7 separate regions of the Homo sapiens genome follow, and all the other regions are linked to region 5. The links are contacts of gene promoters, found by promoter capture Hi-C in blood cells and fetal thymus (Javierre and others, 2016). All regions are on one chromosome and are shown on one strand. Each heading gives the region's core, a stretch centred on a gene start or on the middle of the fragment in contact. The rest is flanking DNA. Distances are from core to core; before and after follow the strand shown. Region 1 overlaps UBE2D4 (ubiquitin conjugating enzyme E2 D4). Region 2 overlaps INHBA-AS1 (INHBA antisense RNA 1). Region 3 has its middle 210 kb from the start of INHBA. Region 4 has its middle 3.3 kb from the start of TMED4. Region 5 holds the start of C7orf25 (chromosome 7 open reading frame 25). Region 6 overlaps NUDCD3 (NudC domain containing 3). Region 7 overlaps YKT6 (YKT6 vesicular SNARE protein).

Evidence for each region. Contacts are between HindIII fragments. The CHiCAGO score rates a contact against its expected background, and 5 or more counts as called.
Region 1: a contact is called between a fragment that was not itself captured here and the fragment with the promoter of C7orf25 in region 5, in 1 of 17 cell types (total CD8 T cells). The highest score is 5.0, in total CD8 T cells.
Region 2: a contact is called between a fragment that was not itself captured here and the fragment with the promoter of C7orf25 in region 5, in 1 of 17 cell types (M2 macrophages). The highest score is 5.5, in M2 macrophages.
Region 3: a fragment that was not itself captured here is called in contact with the fragment with the promoter of C7orf25 in region 5 in 1 of 17 cell types (megakaryocytes); the score reaches 5.3 in megakaryocytes.
Region 4: a fragment that was not itself captured here is called in contact with the fragment with the promoter of C7orf25 in region 5 in 1 of 17 cell types (fetal thymus); the score reaches 6.2 in fetal thymus.
Region 6: a fragment that was not itself captured here is called in contact with the fragment with the promoter of C7orf25 in region 5 in 5 of 17 cell types (neutrophils, fetal thymus, non-activated CD4 T cells and 2 more); the score reaches 11.4 in neutrophils.
Region 7: a fragment that was not itself captured here is called in contact with the fragment with the promoter of C7orf25 in region 5 in 1 of 17 cell types (non-activated CD4 T cells); the score reaches 5.6 in non-activated CD4 T cells.

The regions. Positions count from the first base shown.
Region 1 is chr7:43,933,433-43,936,156 of GRCh38, forward strand. The region is part of intron 1 of UBE2D4 (ubiquitin conjugating enzyme E2 D4); the gene reads left to right. Among named protein-coding and RNA genes, the nearest start is that of UBE2D4, 8.4 kb to the left of the region's middle. The HindIII fragment of the contact is 1,654 bases long and covers 594-2,247 here.
Region 2 is chr7:41,736,846-41,739,599 of GRCh38, forward strand. All of the region lies in intron 2 of INHBA-AS1 (INHBA antisense RNA 1), which reads left to right. Among named protein-coding and RNA genes, the nearest start is that of INHBA, 35 kb to the left of the region's middle. The HindIII fragment of the contact is 710 bases long and covers 1,123-1,832 here.
Region 3 is chr7:41,908,951-41,911,650 of GRCh38, forward strand. No RefSeq gene overlaps it. Among named protein-coding and RNA genes, the nearest start is that of INHBA, 210 kb to the left of the region's middle. The HindIII fragment of the contact is 4,179 bases long and covers 1-2,700 here.
Region 4 is chr7:44,584,134-44,586,833 of GRCh38, forward strand. No RefSeq gene overlaps it. Among named protein-coding and RNA genes, the nearest start is that of TMED4, 3.3 kb to the left of the region's middle. The HindIII fragment of the contact is 1,147 bases long and covers 743-1,889 here.
Region 5 is chr7:42,910,819-42,913,518 of GRCh38, forward strand. It overlaps C7orf25 (chromosome 7 open reading frame 25), which reads right to left and starts at 1,252. Exons shown (of 2, transcript NM_001099858.2): 1 at 1,097-1,252; 2 at 1-103. The coding sequence starts at 82. RefSeq lists enhancers at 81-778, 779-1,475 and a silencer at 824-1,083. The HindIII fragment of the contact is 2,903 bases long and covers 1-1,531 here.
Region 6 is chr7:44,484,714-44,487,413 of GRCh38, forward strand. It overlaps NUDCD3 (NudC domain containing 3), which reads right to left. Exons shown (of 6, transcript NM_015332.4): 2 at 255-571. Among named protein-coding and RNA genes, the nearest start is that of NUDCD3, 4.6 kb to the right of the region's middle. The HindIII fragment of the contact is 6,811 bases long and covers 1-2,700 here.
Region 7 is chr7:44,203,169-44,205,868 of GRCh38, forward strand. YKT6 (YKT6 vesicular SNARE protein) reads left to right here. Exons shown (of 7, transcript NM_006555.4): 2 at 1,400-1,482. Among named protein-coding and RNA genes, the nearest start is that of YKT6, 3.5 kb to the left of the region's middle. The HindIII fragment of the contact is 5,882 bases long and covers 1-2,700 here.

The DNA.
Region 1 (2,724 bases), core at 171-2,670, 1.0 Mb after region 5:
AGTAATTGTTCTTTAAAGAAACTTGGGGCTGGGCGTGGTGGCTCAGGCCTGTAATCCCAGCACTTTGGGAGGCTGAGGCAGGAGGATCGCTTGAGGTCAGGAGTTTGAGACCAGCCTGGCCAACATGGTGAAACTCATCTCTACTACAAATACAAAAATTAGCTGGGCATGGTGGTGCGTTCCTGTAATCAGTCCCAGCTACTCTGGAGGGTGAGACACCAGAATTGCTTGAACCCAGTAGGCAGAGGTTGCAGTGAGCCGAGATGGTGCCAGTGTACTCCAGTCTGGGCAACACAGTGAGACCCTGTCTCTAAAAATAAAAATAAAAAATAAAGAGAACTTGGAAATAAGATAATACCATATTCATCTACTTCAAGATGAATATTTTTTCAAATGTTCACGTCTCTGAAATTGGGATGCTTCTTACAATAGCTGTCAGCCAGGTTACCTTCACTTAGATGTCACTATCTGTATGAGTAAACCATCATGGCAGTTCATTATGAGGTAAGTGCATTGCTGGTACTATATTTGTTGAGTTTAATTGTTTTAAAAATATTTTCAAAAAGATAGTGTGATTTAGCACTGAAAAGAAAAGCTTTTGTGAACACAGGCACAGAAACAGGACAACGACGAGTAAATTTCATAATAAGGGAGCAAATATTTGTTGTTGGAGGAAGGACTGGAATTTCCTAATTCCATGTCAAGCAACCAAATTCTTCATAGCCACAGAAAGGAAGGTACCACCTACCCTCAAGTTGGTGAGACTGGGTCATTTTTTTTTTTCTGGAATACGTGCAAATAGATTGTGTATCATGGGCCTTTGCAGAATAAGTATTCATGGCTTGAAAGAAAACTCCAGGAAGAGTAGTAGAGGACTCTAAGAATTGCCACATTACCATTGTTTTGGAAGACACAGAGGATGATATTGTGTAGACATCAATGACTCAGTGTTGGGCTCTGAATGGGAAGAAACTTTAGGAATACCTGAACAAACCAGTTTATTTATTTCACTTGTTTTTCCTTTTTTTTTTTTTTGTATTCATGAATGATACTTAACAAGAAACACACAAAGCTATGTTTAAGCCTAAAATAATTCTTTTGATAAAAGTAATTTTAATTTTTTAATTTTTTGAAACAGAATCTCACTCTGTCACACAGGCGCAGTCTTGGCTCACTGCAACCTCCACCTCCCGGGCTAAAGCAATTCTTTTTTTTTTTTCCCACAAGAAGAAAAAGTACATTTTATTTAATGACCAAGTACACACACACATTCACACACATGCATATGTACATATAACTAAAAAAAATATTTTTTCTCATCACATGGGATGCATTGTGAAATATTCTACATTCTTTCATTTAAAGAAAAATGCTGGTCACGTTTTAGTAAAAATCTTTCACAAATCACTAATATGTTACAATGCATAACTGCTCTAGAGCATTAACAATGCTAAGCTATAATTTTAGGGAAATATATAGTGGTGCTCCTTCTTAGAATTAGCCCATGTGGTATTTTAGGTACTCAACTCAGGGAAAAAAAAAATGTAACATAGCCTTGTTACCATGTATTCAGCCTGGACATGGTACATGCTTTCAGTGAGCTTAAATCACCTATCTTCCTAGGCCCAAGATCTGAGGGAATGACTTCCAACTACGTAACAGGACCCTTTGTCTGTATTATACATTTTATATGTCTTTTTATGTACATTGTTTCACTTGTTCCTCACAACAACCCTGTGAGGTAGGGAGGGGAAAATATCAGTTACGCTTTATAGATAATGAAGTTAAGGTTCAGAGAGGTTAAGTGACTTTCTCAGTTACCTAGTAAAAGGCAGAGACAGAATAAGAACTATTAACTTTTAGGTTGGGGGCCCTTTTCTCTAAACCACATAGCTTTGGAGAGTATATTCTAACCCAAAATATTTTTACTGCTTCATCCTCATTTTCTTATTATTAATTCAACTTTTTACAGAATACCATAAAAGACCTAATTCTAAATTCATCATGCTAAATTTATGCTTCTCTGTAAACTTATGGCCACAGAATACATATTTTTTTTTTTGGAAAGCACTGTCACTTTGGCCCTAAAGGAACATAAGCAATATAAAGGGCCCCAGAGGCCAAGGAAATTGAAGAGAAGTCAGAAGAAGGGATATAAAATGGAATGTGTTAACGGATTTTAGTCCCTTTAAGTTTGCACTTTTGTGAGAGGGTTCAATGGAGAGCTTTAATGCAGATGAGACTTGAAGCTTTTGAAGAAGATCTAAGTCTTGATGAGGTTATTCAAACTCAGATCTTGAACGCATAATGATGATAGGCCATGGTCTTCAAAAACGTGGTACTTGATGCTCTCCCACAGTGCCAGGACTGGAATGTCACAATACATATAGATTCATGTTTTTGTCCATTAATGGTCTGTGGGTTTCTTTAAATGAAGCCCATTTTAGAGTCCATAGATATCAGTGTTCTGCGAAACTGTTGGGGATTGGAGGCTCCCAAAAGACCCCAGATGCTCTGCCCTGCCCATGGCATCACCCTCTAAAGCGATTCTTGTGCCTCAGCCTCCTGAGTAGCTGGTTATAGGCACATGCCACCAAGCCCAGCTAAGTTTTGTATTTGTAGTAGAGACAGGGTTTCACCATGTTGGCCAAACTGGTCTCGAACTCCTGACATCAGGCGATCTGCCTACCTCGGCCTCCCAAAGTGCTGGGATTACCGGCATGA
Region 2 (2,754 bases), core at 228-2,727, 1.2 Mb before region 5:
ATAGACAGATTATTGGCAACAGCAAAAAAAAAAAAAAAGTTTTTCTGTGTTTCAATACCAAAACTATTTTAGAGGTATGCTTTTCTTTTGTATTTTCTGACAGATACTGCCTTTCCCTTGTGTGATTAGTTTTTTCAAGATGCCACATGGACATGCTTCCCCTTCCCGCATACAATGTAGCCACGTCATATACACATGCAACTCACGTGACTCCAACTCTATGCACTTGAGAAAAAGAGAGAACATGACAATGCCGTAGGTGATACCACCTGTCACTCAATGCGTATGCCCAAGAATAGAGAAATAGATGCGAACCTGATGTTCTTCTGGGGTTATGCCCACAAAACAATACTTTCTGAACCTATGGATGGATTGTGAGATTTTTCAAGATATTTTAATTATACATAACATTTGCCTTATATGCTGAATCTAGGCTTATGTTAGATGCTATTCCACCCTACCTAAACTTGAGTGGGGTGCAATCTGCCCAGCCTTAACTTTGTCCACAGAAAGGATGTGTGGAATGTTCTTAACTCTGGTCCACTTGGGTCCTGGCAGGTCACTCTGATATCTGTTTCCTCATTATCCAGCACTTGGGCATCTTCTGGGATCTATATGACTGAGGTGGAGTTTTCTTCCTCCAACCCTCAGTTTCTTTGCCATATTAGATTTCATGAGCTTTCTCTTGGTCCATAACATATTCAGAACATCTATGTTGATGGTTACTGTTTCATACACAAAACTATTTTATCAGAGCTCTCTCTTCTTCCTCAACAACAATGTTTTTATTGAGACGACCACTTAGCCCAAGACATGTTAGTGGATCTTTTTGATTAGTTAGTTTGTTTGTTTTATTTTTATTTTTATTTTTTTGAAAACTGACATCAAACAGCTCCAGTTATTTCTAGTTTTAGCAGCACAACAAATAATTTTCTGGGGGGGAGAATAGGTAGCCATTTGTGATATGAGGCAAGCAAACCATGATCTTGTGAATATAGCAAGTTGCTGAGGCACAATTTTCCCAGGTGGATAAAGCTGGGCACTGCCCCTCTCATCTGCATCTATTTGTAGCAACAGATTTCTATTAAGGGCCAAATAGCCATCTGCAAGGAAAGAAATGAAAGCTTTGAGGTTTTGAGTTATTAGAGGATATCTGATATCATGGTGTTTTTCTGGATGAGGCCAACAGATGAGACAAGGGGCTCCCAGGAGAGGTGGATTTAGGCTTAACGCTGGGGCCTTGTTGTTGGTGGGGTGAGCACTTTCTGGCAAATCGGGTTCTGTAACCTCCTCTCCCCGCCCCCGAACCAGTGTCCAGGCACCATGATGCGCCCTGGAGAAAATGTCTGTGTCTGAGTATAAAGTGATAGGATTATATCTTGGAATTTGGGCTGGGAGTGGTGTGAAGCACCCATAGATGAGAATAAGCCTGAGAGGAAAAGCAGTTTCTTCCTCACCCTGGATTCAGAAGTAAGGCCAGGTGCTCTTCAGTGCTTTGGGGCTTGTGGCCTTGCCCTAGAATATTCACCTGCTGATCACACCAGGCAGTGACAATGGCAGTAGAGAAAGCACTCCCTCAGAGGAAATGGCCAGACTTCCCAGTTTCCTCCTCTGCAAAGGGTTATTAATCACCACGGGTCCCCTTCCACTTAGAATGCATTTGAAGCACATGCAGAGGGAGAGCTTTCTCGCGATCAGTGGAACAAAGGCTTGGAGTCAATAGGATTTGGACACCAGAAGAAAGGAGACATTATTTTGCACCACACGCTGGTGAAGTGGGTATTATCTTCATCAGAATTTTTATGTAAAATTTGGAGACTGCCCATCAAGAAAGCTTCTTTGTGAACCCAAAGGTAGTGATACTTTCCTTAACAATGAGGGGGTAGAACTTATGGGAAGCAGAATGCAATTAAAACTCATATCCGATATTCTACTGCTCAACTGATGTCTTATTAAAAATGTGTGCTTGTGGCCAAGGAAGTAGGAGGTGCGCTCTCAGCTGTCAGGCAGAGAAGAGAGAGCCGTGCCCTGGATCCATGTTTAAAGGCCTGCACACTCAGATCCCCAGTCCATGAGGAGGGAGCCGTTTACATCCTCTTCCCACATGACAATCAAAATCACACCACAGACTTCATTTTTCTCACTTCTCCTACACAAGGGCTCATGGTTGGGCATAAGATAATGAGGACAGGCTCTGTCACCCACAGTGTGGCAAGATAAGATGTAGCATAGTCAGAAGAAATTATTTTAGGGCCCCCTCCCCCAGAATTTTCACTGGTGACTCAATTCATCCTTTATGTGGCTAAATGGGTGATATCAGATATAGGATCCTCAGATGCCCTGAGTTTTAATTCTGGCTCTACCACTGACTTCATTTCTGTAATAGGTATACTATCAAATGTCTCCATGCCTCTGTCTCCTTGAAGGGAAAACTCACTTCACCAAATTATAAGGAACACCAAATTATTGTGAAGTCCTCTGCCAAGTCTAGTTGAGATTTGTATGATTCTTCAACCTGTCCAGCATCAGCCCCTCGATATTTTATGAACTGTGGCTCTCCATAAATTAAAATTTACCAAGACATAATTGCAGGAATGTTTTAAAATATTACTCATTTTTAGTAACATTTTGGTAGCATTTGAAATTATGGCTGCTAGATCTTTCTTGGCATTCATTGTATTAAACCTCAATGGCTCTATCAAGTAATGGGTTTTTGAGTTGGCCAGTAAAACTCATCCAATATCTCATAAGTTA
Region 3 (2,700 bases), core at 12-2,511, 1.0 Mb before region 5:
CCCCAATATTTCAATGTAGGTTCTTTCTATTTTCCATAAGTGTCGGCCAGCTGAGAAATAAACAGAGACAGTACAAAGAGAGGAATTTTGCAGCTGGGCTGCCAGGGGTGACATCACATATCAGTAGGACCGTGCTGCCCGCCTGAGTCTCAGACCAGCAAGTTTTTATTAAGGGTTTCAAAAGGGGAGGGGGTGTAAGAACAGAGAGTAGGTACGAAGATCACATGCTTCGAAGGGCAAAAGGCAGAACTACTAGTAAAGGTCTAACAAAGATCACAAGGCAAAGGACAAAAGCAGAACTATGATAAGTGTCTATGTTCAGCAGTGTACATATTGTCTTGATAAACATCTTAAATAACAGAAAACAGGGTTCAAGAGCAGAGAACTGGTCTGATCACAAATTTACCAGGGTGGAGATTTTCCCCACCCTAGTAAGCCTGACGGCACTGCAGACCAGGGTGTATCTCAGTCCCTATCTCAAACACGTAAGACAGACATTCCCAGAGTGGCCGTTTATAGACCTCCACCTAGGAATGCATTCTTTTCCCAGGGTATTAATATTAATATTTCTTGCTAGGAAAGGAATTTAGTGATATCTCTCCTACTTGCACGTCCATTTATAGGCTCTCTGCAAGAAGAAAAATATGGCTCTTTTTGCCCAACCCCACAGGCAGTCAGACCTTACGGTTGTCTTCCCTTGTTCCCTAAAAATCACTGTTATTCTGCTCTTTTTCAAGGTGCACTGATTTCTTATTGTCCAAACACACGTGTTTTACAATCAATTTGTACAGTTAACACAATTGTCACAGTGGTCCTGAGGTGACGTACATCCTTAGCTTACGAAGATAACAGGATTAAGAGATTAAAGTAAAGACAGGCATAAGAAATTATAAAAGTATTATTTGGGAAGTGATAAATGTCCATGAAATCTTCACAATTTATGTTCCTCTGCCACGGCTCCAGCCGGTCCCTCTGTTCAGGGTCCCTGACTTCCTGCAACAGGGAAGAACCCTCAGTTCTGGGAAATCCTTGCTCCTTTCCTAGAGAACTCATGAATAATCCACCCCTTGTTTAGCATATAATCAAAAAATAACTATAAGTATACTCAGTTGAGCAACCCATCTCCCTGCTCAGCCTATGGAGCAGTCATTCTTTATTCCATTCCTTTCGTAATAAACTTGCTTTCACGTTACTCTATGCACTTGTCCCAAATTCTTTCTTGTGTGAGGTCCAAGAGCCCTCGCTTGAAGTCTGGGTCAGGACCCCTTTCCGGTAACAGTAACGGTTAGTAAATAGAAAATATCTCAAATTGGTAAACCTAGAAATAATAGCAGAGACGTATGTGGAGATAGAGAGTTAACATATAAAGAATCAACACAGGAATTAAAGTGTTTGCCTCTAGAGTGTAGGACTATTGGCTGGGGAGGCTTGGAGCAAAAGACACTATTATCGGAGTTTGGCGCCACTTAATGATTTTAAGCATGTGCATATATTACTTCAGTAAAATAATTTTTTAAGTGATGGGGAGAGGAAGCTGTGAAGATAGCTCATGAAAACTCTACCATCTCTTATGGTCTTTAAATAATCAAAGATGTGATTTTTCTCTCATTTCCATTGGATGGCTTATTCTACTGCTAATTAAAGCTGTTTTCTTTTTATGCTTTAATTCTATTAAAGTAATATTTTAAATTTAAAATTTAAATTTTTAATTTTTAATAAAAATTATGTTATTCTATTAAATTGATAGTTTTTCTTTTCTTTGAATTTGCATTTTAACTATCTTTAATATTTACTATCTGTGCTGTTTTAACACACTTCCACAAATTCTTTGATTTTTCTCCCGCCTTAAATGTGGGCTCGTGCTGACACTGAAGTGTGACAGAAATAAAGCAGTGCGACTCCGGATGACAGATCATAAAAGGTATTTTGGCTTTTATTCTACTCTCTCTCTTGGGTCATTCACTCTGGGGGAAGCAGCTGCCGTATTGGAAGGATGCTCCTGCTGACCTATGGAGAGTCTCCTAGGAGAAACTGAGGCCTCCTGATGACTGCCACGTGACTGAGCCTGGAAGCAGACCCTCCAGCTGCATTCACATCTCCAGATGACTGCAGCCCTGGAAGACACCTTGATTGCAAGTGCATGAGAAACCCAGAGCCAGAACCACCCAGCTCAATCACACCCAAGTTCATGATTCACAGAAACTGAGATAATAAATGCCTGATGTGCTAAGCCACTTAGTTCTGGGATAATTTCTTACAGGCAGTAGATAACTAATACACCATGAAAGTAATATAGATCTGGTCCATCTGGCCTTTTCTCAAGAAGTAATTCCATTCCAGAGACGTTGATATTCAACACTTTTCATCAAGGAGAGATGATGAAGAATTCCTCCCAGATTGAAATGAAGGTCACCCTAGAAGCACAGATTATGCAAAGAGCACTACAAGAATACTTAACACTTGCATAAGATTTATTTTAGTTTATTCAGGCCCTAGAATCTTTCCTTAAGTCATTTGCAAGTTAAAATATAACAGCTTAACTGCTAGTGGTTTTACATTTTTCTCTTCCCCGTTCTTTTGATTTACTTACCTATGTAATAGCCCATTGATCAAGATCCTCCCTACACCTGAATTATACCCTCAAGGAGGAAACATAAGGAATTGTAAGGGACAGCAAGGCTATAGGTCAGGAATGCTCCT
Region 4 (2,700 bases), core at 66-2,565, 1.7 Mb after region 5:
GTACTCCAGCCTAGGCAACAGAGTGAGATTCTATCTCAAAACAAACAAAAACAGGGCCGGGCGCAGTGGCTCACACCTGTAATCCCAGCACTTTGGGAGGCCAAGGTGGGCAGATCACGAGGTCAGGAGTTCGAGACCAGCCTGGCCAATATGGTGAAACCCTACCTCTACCAAAAATACAAAAATTAGCTGGGTGTGGTGGTGCTCACCTGTAGTCCCAGCTACTTGGGAGACTGAGGCAGAAGAATCGCTTGAACCCAGGAGGCAGAGGTTGCAGTGAGCCGAGATCATGCCACTGCACTCCAGCCTGGGTGAGAGAGAGACTCGTGTCCAAAAAAAAAAAAACAAACCATATAACAACATATATATATATTATACATATTATATATATATTATATATATAAATTTCCCCTCTCTTTTTGTTGTTTGTTATTCATGGCATTTACTTATTGAAGAAACTGGGTCATTTGACCAACAGAATTTTCCACTTTCTGGGTTTTGCTGATTGTATCTTCAGGTGTCATTTAACGTTTTTTGTCCCTGGTATGTCCTGTAATCACAGTTAATTCTAGAGTCAGGGGAGGTTTACAGTGAAACTAATGAAGCTTAATCTTCAGGCCCTCCCTTGCATAGACCCCCGTACCTAATTTCGCATTTATAATTTTGTGTCTTTTTCTTAAAGAGGACTGTGAAATTTGTATAGTTTAAGGCCCCACAAAGCTTGGATTTGCCCCTGGCTAGAAGCTTCATTAGGTTTAGGTGTAATGTTGAGGTTTGGGTTTTTTTGTTTTGTTTTGTTTGCAATAACGCTTCGTGGCTGGCACTATGTACTTCTACTGAGGCACAAGGCGGGTTTGTCTCTTAGTAATATTGTAATTCATCTCTCAATTTGGGGGTTGTCATCCTGATTATCCATGAAGTTTACCATCAGCCTTTCTTCTAATAGTCTAGCAAACGTTGATGATCATTAGACCATTGGTTCTCAACGAGGGTTGATTCTGCCCTGTCCTACCAAGGGGAAATTTGGCAATGTCTGGAGATATTTTGGATTGTTGCAACTGGGTGGGGGGTGGCGGGTGGTACTGCTGTTATCTAGAAAATGAATGCAAGGAATACTGCTAAACATTGTATAATTCACAGAGCACACCTCCCCCCCACAGCGAAGAATTATCCAGCTCAAAATGTCAGTAGTACCCAGGTTGAGAAACCCTAGTGTAGTTTTATGATGTTCCTTAGGTGTGCAAAGTGGTAATTTCAAATGCTCTCATTTCTCCTGCATTTATAAGATGAGATTCTTCTACAAAGGTGAGCATTCCCTCATCTCTCTGGTTACTTTGAAATACAATCCATTCGGGATAGCCAGGATGTATGCTTGATGCTTTCCCACGCACAGTGGCTCTGCCTATAATCCCAGCACTTTGGGGGGCCAAGACAGGAGGACTGCTTGAGCCCAGGAAATGGCAAGATCTTTACAAAATATGTAAAAATTAGACAGGCATGGTGATGCATGCCTGTAATTCCCGCTACTTAGGAGGCTGAGGCAGGGAAATGGCTGGAGCCCAGGAGGTTGAGGATACAGTGAGCCGTGATGGGACGACAGCACTCTAGCATGGGTGACTGAGTGAGACCTTGTCTCAAATAATAGTAATAATAATAAAGATGGATGGATGGATGCCCCAGCAACCTCTAACTGTGACCACTTTGGGTTCTTTGGGGAGAAGGGGCAGTGCTATCATGAATTGATGGATGTTTAGATATTTGATGTGCTTTAATCCATTACAGTCATTGTCCTTTTTTAAATGTTCAGATTGTCTCATCAAATATTTAGTTGCTGCTGTGTCCTTCTGGCACAATCCTAGTAATCCACAATCCTAGTAGTCTTTAGGTCAAGCTTGTCCAACCTGTGGCCCATGCAGCCCAACACAAATTCATAAACTTTCTAAAAACATTATGAGATTTTTTTTTTTTTAGCTCATCAGCTATTGTTAGTGTATTTTATGTGTGGCCCAAGACAATTCTTCTTCTTCCAGTGTGGCCCAGGAAAGCCAAAAGATTGGACACCCTGGACTTCCTTGCTTTCCGTTTTATACATTTACTGCCCAGAAACAAAACCAACCATTTCTCCAAGGAACCCTAATTCACTTTAGTGAGAAATGGTATTTGTATTGGCAAACTTATTTTCTTTCTTTTTTTTTTTTTTTTTAAGGAGGATCCTGAAATTTGTCTTAACTGAGAGATAATATTAAAGAGATTGTATTCTCCACTGCAGAAAATTTAACTTAGGAGGTGAGGCACTGTGGCTCATGCCTGTAATCCCAGCATTTGGGAGGCCGAGGCAGGAAGATCGCTTGAGTCCAGAAGTTCAAGACCAGTCTGGGCTACATGGTGACACCCTGTCTCTACCAAAAAAAAAATTAGCTGGGCATGGTGGCATGGGCCTGTAGTCCCAACTACTCGGGAGGCTGAGGTGGGAGGATTGCTTGACCCCCAGGAGGTTGAGGCTGCAGTGAGCTGTGATGGTGCTGCTGCACTCCAGCCTGGGCAACAGAGTGAGACCCCATCTCCAAAAAAGAAAGAAAATTTAACTTAGGGAGTCTAATTCCCCAGATGAGAGATTTTTCTGCTCAGAAGCCATGAAGCAATTTCTGCCGATGTTTGTCTAGGCTCTTTGTCTAGACCAGCCACCCCGTCCTTCATTTG
Region 5 (2,700 bases), core at 2-2,501:
TTGATCTAGAAAGTGATTCTGCTCTCTTGATCAGTTCCTTGGCTATGGCGATTCGTTCACAGAGCATGGAATGTGCAGACATGCTGTCAGCATTATTCCTTTCCTAGGGAAAGAAACAAGGCAAACTTCAGTAGTCTCCTAAAATTATGACAATCAATTCTTCACTGGTGATTAAAAACTTCAATCTAGCAACACAGCTTATGGAGGGTGAGTCTATGAACCCGGGCTTGTGTATGTCTCATTCTGGAGTGACTGCTTCCTCTGATAGCTAAGGAAAGGATGGCAGCTACACTTTTGAACTCTTCTTTAGGTACGTCTGACACACTTTAGACCTTCATTTCTTCAGCTTGAAAGCCATGGGGACACAGCATGGTCCTAGGTTAGGATACAATGCAAGAGTTGGGCAATCTGCTATATAAATAATTCCCTTATGTCTATCAGCGGCCTGTTTAACTGCTGAGAAATTTTAATAAAGGCGACAAAAATGCCGAAAACAAAAATACACACAGACTGGCTAGTTAGCAAACTGTCCAAAGCAAGTGTCTGTCCTAAACTGAGCACTTCAGCCTCCCTAACCTTTTCCTCCTTCCCGAGTTGGTCTCCTTCAACCGGCTGCCTCATGATTTCCCCCGAGGCTTGGGGTACTTACGCCAAAAAAAATCAACACTGCCTCATTTCTGCATTTGACGTCAACCCAGACTATTTTAAAAGACCGAAGAAGACCACCAACTTGCGTCCCACTCCCACTCCGACTCTGAAGGAAAATCCGAAGATGAAACTAAACTCCAAGGCTGCAACCCGCGGCGGCCGTGCAAGCGGCCCCAGCGCAGGTCGCCGGGTGGGCGGGCCAGAGGCCGGCGGGGCCTTCTCGGTGGGCTGCGGGGCCCTCGGCCCTGCCCGGCCACCTGCACAGCCGGGCCCTGCCAGGAGGGGCCGGGGCCGAAAAGCCCCCACCGCCAGCGCCGCGGCTCAGGGACCAGGCGCTGATAGCGCGCGGCCGACCCCCTTCCCGCCGGGCCGGCCCTGCCCAGCCCCCTCTGGCCTCAGAAGAGGCGCCCCGCTCCCAGCCTCCCCGCCTCGCTCCCCGGCTCCTCACCGGCAGCGCCAGAACCGCGAGCGCGAGCACGCAGGCGCGTGCACGCAGAGGCCGGGACCCGCCGGGAAATCTCAACCGGGCAGCCCCCACCCCGCTCGAACGCCGAGGCGGCTCCACCCGCGCGAGCCCCGCCGCCTCGGGCACCTCCTGCATCACGTGGTTCCGGGCCGGGTGACGCCAAACCTGCGATTCCCAAGCGGCAGCGCGGCCTCCCGAGCCGGGTTGACGCTGGCGTGGCGGCCATGTTTATTGAGGGCACCTGGCTTCTCCCGCTTGCGCCGCCGGGTGAGCCTGAAGGCGCGCACCCACCTGGCTCCAGGAAGAGGGACCGAGCTCGCGTGCTGGGCCTCACTCCCACTGGGGGCGTCGGCCACTCGATCGCAACCGGGTCGTAGGCATTTTGGGGGCTCATTTTAACAGAAGAAACGCTGGAGAAGCTTGTCAGAGGTGACAGCTGAGAAGTACTGCCTCTGGGACTTCTGCCTCCAAGCCAAAGCACTTTCCACTGCATTGTCCTGGGCCCTCCAAAGAAAGTGTGCTGTCCTTCTGAAGAGAAGAAATGATTGCATGGCTTCCGAGGGGCTGCCATATTCATATTACTGTAGTAGAGTGTCCAGAGTCACCCAGAAAGATTAGGGCTGTAAGAAAGTAAAGCTAATTTAAAATATTAAAGAGGACTTCCAGTTATAATTAATCCTGTGTATCCTGCTCCTTCTCCAAACTTAACAGTAAAGCAATGCTCCTTCTCCAAATAACAGTAAAGCAATGACAAAGGGAACAAACAAAGGCAAAAAGAACAAGAGAAGAGATGACTGCAGACCGGTTATACCAACACATTTTTGGAGGACAAGAGCAATAACTTATTCAGTCCTTACAGCGTGACAGACATTGTTCTAAGTGTTTTACACATTGTTCACTCCTTTAAACAACCTAAAAGGTAGAGATATTAAGTATGCTTTACAGATAAGTGAGCCATAGGGAGGTTACCTGAACCCAAGCACCCTCTTTGCAGATGGTGTCAGGAGAACTGAGCAAACTGCTTGTAGAAGGGGATATTTAGCCACTGATTCACAAAGCAGAACCCCAGAAAGCTTCAGGTGCCTTGAAGGTAGAAGGGAGGGCAGTAAATTGTTCAGGCAGAAGACTAGTTTAAGATGCTAAAGACAGGGCATCAGAGGGATTCCAGACACAAAGCCTAACAAAGGATGAGAGGTGCCATGATGTTTTCCTACTGAATAGTGCAATGCTAGCAGCCCCCTTCTCTGCCCCTCCCATAATGCAGGCACCCCTCTACCGCTCCCTACCACTATCTCCCCATAACCCTATTTTTCTCTGAAGAAATGAGTAGACAAAAGACCCTAGAGAAATGGCTCGGCAATACCAACATTCAGCATCCCCTAGTGTGAGCCTCACGAACACAGCATTTCCCAACGTTTTTGTTATTTGAAGGAAATGGAAAACAGAACAAAATGGTCTCAAAAAGTATTCTATAACTAGCATCTTCAAATAAAAGATATTTCAGCTATGAAACAAGAGGATTTCTTTTTTTAAGGAGACAGCAGAGCACAGGAAATGGTTCTTCTGTAGTAAAAATCATATCCCAA
Region 6 (2,700 bases), core at 30-2,529, 1.6 Mb after region 5:
CTCTAATTTTGGCTCTGGATCTCAAATGGTTGTATGACTACTGACCTTACCAAATGAGGGAACTGACCTTAAGCCAACTGACCTCCCATCCTACATAACTGAAAGACTGTAATGCAGCAGTTTACAAACATGAAGAGCTAAATAAATACTGAGATCAAGAATTAATGTGTTACAAAGTAAGAATAAATTATGGAGAAACCCAAACACCAGATGTTACGCAAGAAAGAAGGAAGCTGCAAAGTAGAAATTCCCACCTGGGAAGAATTGGTGGTTCCCTAGGGACTTCAGCAGCACCAGCAACTGCTCCTGGAGCTTCTGCCTCCTGTGAACCATGGGCCATTTCCTTCACAGGGCCTGGAGGCTGCACTTTCTCTACTTCCTGATGCCCATCCAATTCTGTGGTGGAGTCAATCTCTATTTCCTGGACTGGAACTGGGACTGGCTCCTTCTCAGCTGCAGCAGCTGACACAGTCTTGGCCTCTTCCTCTTCCTTTCTTCTGATTTTCTCTTCAAGTTCCTGCCTTCTCTTCTCATCATCCTGACGGGCCATGTGGTCAAAGGTTTTGAATACCTAAAATCAAACACCAATCCAGCAATCAGTTCATCTGCCCAATACTGTACCACATATCTTGTAGAAATGTCGTAAAATCTGTGAAGGAGAGAACTAAAAGTCAGAAACTGACAAGTTTTCCCACTGGCAAAATGGAAATGCACTGCCACTTCACCAAAAGCTGACAGGTAAACAGTGTTTAACAGGAGGATTCCAAAATCAACAAAATCAGAAACTTATAAGCCAAGGCTAACAATATTTACATACCTAAAAGATGTACAGTTAGATGGTCTTTGTTGTCATTATTTTACAGACCCCAGTCTTGTTCACAATGCAAAGAATACACGGTCCTGGTACAACTGTGGGTTATAAAGGCACCAAAATTCAGACTCACAAATGAAACATGAAAATATGGCTGAACTTCAATTCCCAAAATGGAACCAGGTTTACAGGACTGCTGCTGTTTTTCACCACACTGCATGGACATTCAATTCAACAAACATCTACTATGCGCCTACAGTGTGCAAGAAACACGCACGCACAAAAAACATCAAAATGATTTCTGCTGCCTCCTAAGAACTCAAAATTCTGGTGTGTAAACAAGTTCTTAACATTTTCTGGGAAACAGTCACACCCATGAAGGTGCTGGGACCTCTCTACCAAAAAAGTACAGTCAAGACATACCCACACATGAAAACTCTGATACAAGAGGGGGCATGACAAGGCCCTCAATTCCCTGTCAGGGTATGGGTGGGAATGAGCATGTCTGGCGAAAGAAATCTAGGGAGACTTCTTGGAACAAGGAGGATCCCAGTTAGACCCTGAATGAGAGGCACATCTTCCACAGGGAACCACTGGAGGAAATGCCACAGCTCTAAGAATAGGCTTGTCAAGGAAGGGCAAAAGCTCTTGCAATAACTGGAGGAAGGAAAGGCTGAGACAGCAACCTGGGACATGGGTGGGAGTCAGATTCCAAAGGGCTAGAATGCGGACAGGTATTAAATAACAATGTTCTGTGCACTGCGCGGGCAGTCAAAAGGGTGCTAACAGACTAACTGTGTCAAATTATTTTACAAACATTCTCTCAAAACCCTCACAAAAATACTGTGAAGAAGACAGCATCAACATTTCAAAAATGAGAAAAAAATAAGGCTTGGAAAGGTTACGTAACTTGCCCCAGCTCCTGCTGGCAAAAGAAGTAAAAAACTACGCAGCACACACCAAACAGTGTGGGGAGATGATGATGTAGGCAGAGGGGAAAAAAAAAAATCAATAAAATCCTAAAAGGTTAAAAACTGGAAACAACACCAGAACCATTTTTACTTCTGCAGATAACCTGAAGCCCTGACTTCATTCTAACATTAGGGTCTCTACCGCTTTGAGTCCATGCTTTCAGAGTTGCTCATCCTGCTGATACTCCAGATCTTCATCTTAACTCCACAAAAGCAAAGCAACAAGATCTCTCTCTCCTAACACCTGAGACTTCGAACACAGAACCCCCAGACTTGATAGTCCTCACCATGCAGCTGCCTCTGCTCACTCAGTACATCCAGCCTTCTCTGACCTACCCATTCACACCACCAGGAAGTGCTACCACTGCCAACCTCCCAACTATCACATGTTCTCAGTACTCATTCTAGAGTCACAGAACATAGGGCTGGAAGAGAACTCTAATCTGTAACCTCCAATCAATCTTCTCAGCTGACAAGAGGTGAAGTGACTCTCCCAAGATTTCTCAACAATTTATGTAAGGAACAGGATGTAGCTAGCTTTCCTGATTCTAGTTTCAAGGACTTCTACAAAGGAGCACTTCTCAAAGTGGACTCCAAAAAAAACAGCATTATCGATTATAATGAATGGCTTGTCAGTCTAAACGATTTTTGTCTTAAAACATACTAATGTATTATAAAATGGAATGCAATTTTCACATACATCATTCCTGCTGAGGTTCTTCAAGCTGTGTATCCAGGCTATGCAAACTTTTAAAAGGAAACGTATGAGCTGCCTAACTCTACACCAACACTGTACTCCCCAAAATATTAAGGGAACGCTTTGAAGTTCCACAATGATGCAGCCCAGCACTCCCATCCAAATTCTTCTCTGCCTATATTCAGCAGAGACACCAAGCATCCCACATCTGGTGGGGGTGG
Region 7 (2,700 bases), core at 148-2,647, 1.3 Mb after region 5:
CTGCAACCTCCGCCTCCTGGGTTCAAGTGATTCTCCTGCCTCAGCCTCCCAAGTAGCTGGGATTACAGGCGCGCACCACCACACCCGGCTAATTTTTGTATTTTTAGTAGAGATGGGGTTTTACCATGTTAGCCAGGCTGGTCTCGAACTCCTGAGCTCAAGTGATCCGCCTGCCTTGGCCTCCCAAAGTGCTAGGATTACAGGCTTGAGCCACCACGTCCGGCCTGAGCTTGTTTTCTTATAAGACCGCTTTACTTACGTCCTTTGTGCCCTATAATTACCCGATTCCAAAGTTGAAAAAGTAGTTTCCCAGCTTTTTTGGTCTTTGTATACATGCTGTCACAATGCAGTTCTTCCTTTGTCTCTTTATAGCCGTGTCTCAAATGCTGTCTCTAGGTTTACTGCAAAGCCTTCCTTGTTTGAGGTCTTCTTTTCTGAGGGGTTATTTTGATCACTTCAGTCCCTCAAGATATTAACAAGTAATACTGTGTGTGCAGGCATTGTTCCAAGTGCTTTACACGTATTACCTCGTTTAACTGTTGCACAAATCTTGATTTTTTTAATGTGGAGGCACAGCACACAGGCCCAGAGTCAGGCCTTCAGTTACCTATATGGCTCTGCTGGAGCCTGCTGCAGACTCCCATTTGAGCACCCTGCTTTGATGGCCCTGGTTGCCCTTTATATCACATCCTCAGTTGGAGGCTCCTTGTCAGCACCTCTTCCTCTGGCTGTACCATCTCCTGTGACTGTTCTGTTCTGGATAGATCTCTCTGTTGAGCCCATGATGGACCTTCTCCCTTTCACCCTTTGTATGAGCCATTTCCCACTTCTTTGTCTTGGATGAGCAGTTTTCCTTTTGTTCCATCCAGAGTGTCTTGCGCTCGTTCTGTGGACGAGCCCCAGCAGACCTGAGCCAGCACTCACTATGGGTGTATGTGGCATTGCGAGGGTCTGTCATGTGGACACAGCCATAAATGGTTGTGCATTTCTGCCTGACAGTTTTTGCACACTATTCTTCTAGTGCAGTTCTTATAAATGTCCTGCTTCTTGGAAGTTATTGGGACCTTGAGAGCAGGACCTGCCTCTTGTTTTTCCATTGCATTCCAAATTATGCATTCACCAAAATGTAAAATTGACTGTATCCTGTGGAAAAACCCCCCAGAAAATTCACCTGTTTTGGTGAGCCAGGTAGCAAACAGATGGAGCTTTCATGGTGATGATAATTCATAATTATCAGTATTTGTGCTCATTTATAGAGTGTTTGTTACTAGGGATGGGAGGGAAAGGAATGAAACCAAGAAGCAATGTCTACTTAATGTATAAGCCCAGAGGTCACTTTCCACTGTGTTGGGGACAAGGTGATAAGAAGTAGGCAATAAATACATTTTGTGTTTCTTAGCGTTCAGGAATTCATGACCTTCACGAGTCAACTGATTGTGGAGCGCTCATCGAAAGGCACTAGAGCTTCTGTCAAAGAACAAGGTAAGAAGACCCTCCAACTTCTGTGCGTGTGCTGGCCTGGCTGCCATGCCTCACCTCACATAGCACCCAGCTTTCTCCTTTCTACTGGGACCCTACTCCTCCTCTAGCTTGTTCTCTCTTTCCCACCTCTTCCTTTTCCTATTTATGCAGAATTCTGTGCCCACTGTTGAAGTCTGAGCTTCCCAGATAAAATTGCCCTCAAACTTAGACTCATTTAAGATTAGGGTCTGACTCTTTTGGAGCAGTAAGCAGCCTTCATATCGTATTCTTCCCTATCCTCTTCAGAGTTGCAGACCCCTCAAAAAAGGATTTCCAGCTAGCACTGTTGAGGTACTATATGTATTCTGTGCATCGTAGATTTTTTGATCAGGAATCTGAAAAAACTATTTTTTCTTTCTGATAATTCAGGTTTAGGCATTTATTTAGATGTGTATGTTATACAGACAGATCAGGAAAGAGTTACATGAGTTTCATCAGGTAGGGACAAAGATCATCTCACACTTATGCTAACCTCAAGTCACGTGACATAGAGTTACTGAATTGATGATATAAATGTCAGTTATGATACAGGCAGGATTGACTATATACACTTTATGTGGGATCTCTGTGCTATTAACATCATAGAAGTGAAATCGCATCACAAATATTTCAGTGTTCTTGCTCTGTTCTTCAAACTGTGCCTGCCCTTCCCACGTTTATTACTTAAAGACAATTCCTCCACTGACCAGGTTCTCAGTTTCTTTGGAGGGTATGCACTTTGACCCCATGTTTGAATCTTAATTGGGGATGGTATACAAAATCTGGAGAGCATTGGTGACAACCCCCTGTCCTCTTCCTCCTCCTCATTCTTGTTCTCATTTATCTCTGCTCTTTTCTGATTTCAGGGGCTCACCATCATTCCCTCCTCTTTTATTTGTTTTTCTGTTGTTTAGCATTGGAATCTTCTGGGTCAGATCCTTAAGGACAAGAAGGTTCTTATTTGTAAGCTGTAATCCTTACATTTCTCTTTCCTTGGGGATATGGTTAGCTGTATCAACTCTGAATCCTTTCAAAGTGATGGAAATGAACAATCCTGTGGATTGTGAATATTTTGCGGAAGACCTGTACAACTGTACCTTTCAATCATATGAGGATTTTAGCACAGTGCTCTGGAGGCCTTAGCTGGCAGTAGCTAATCTTTTTCTAGACTAACCCCCCTACTCCCAGTCACCCACCAGA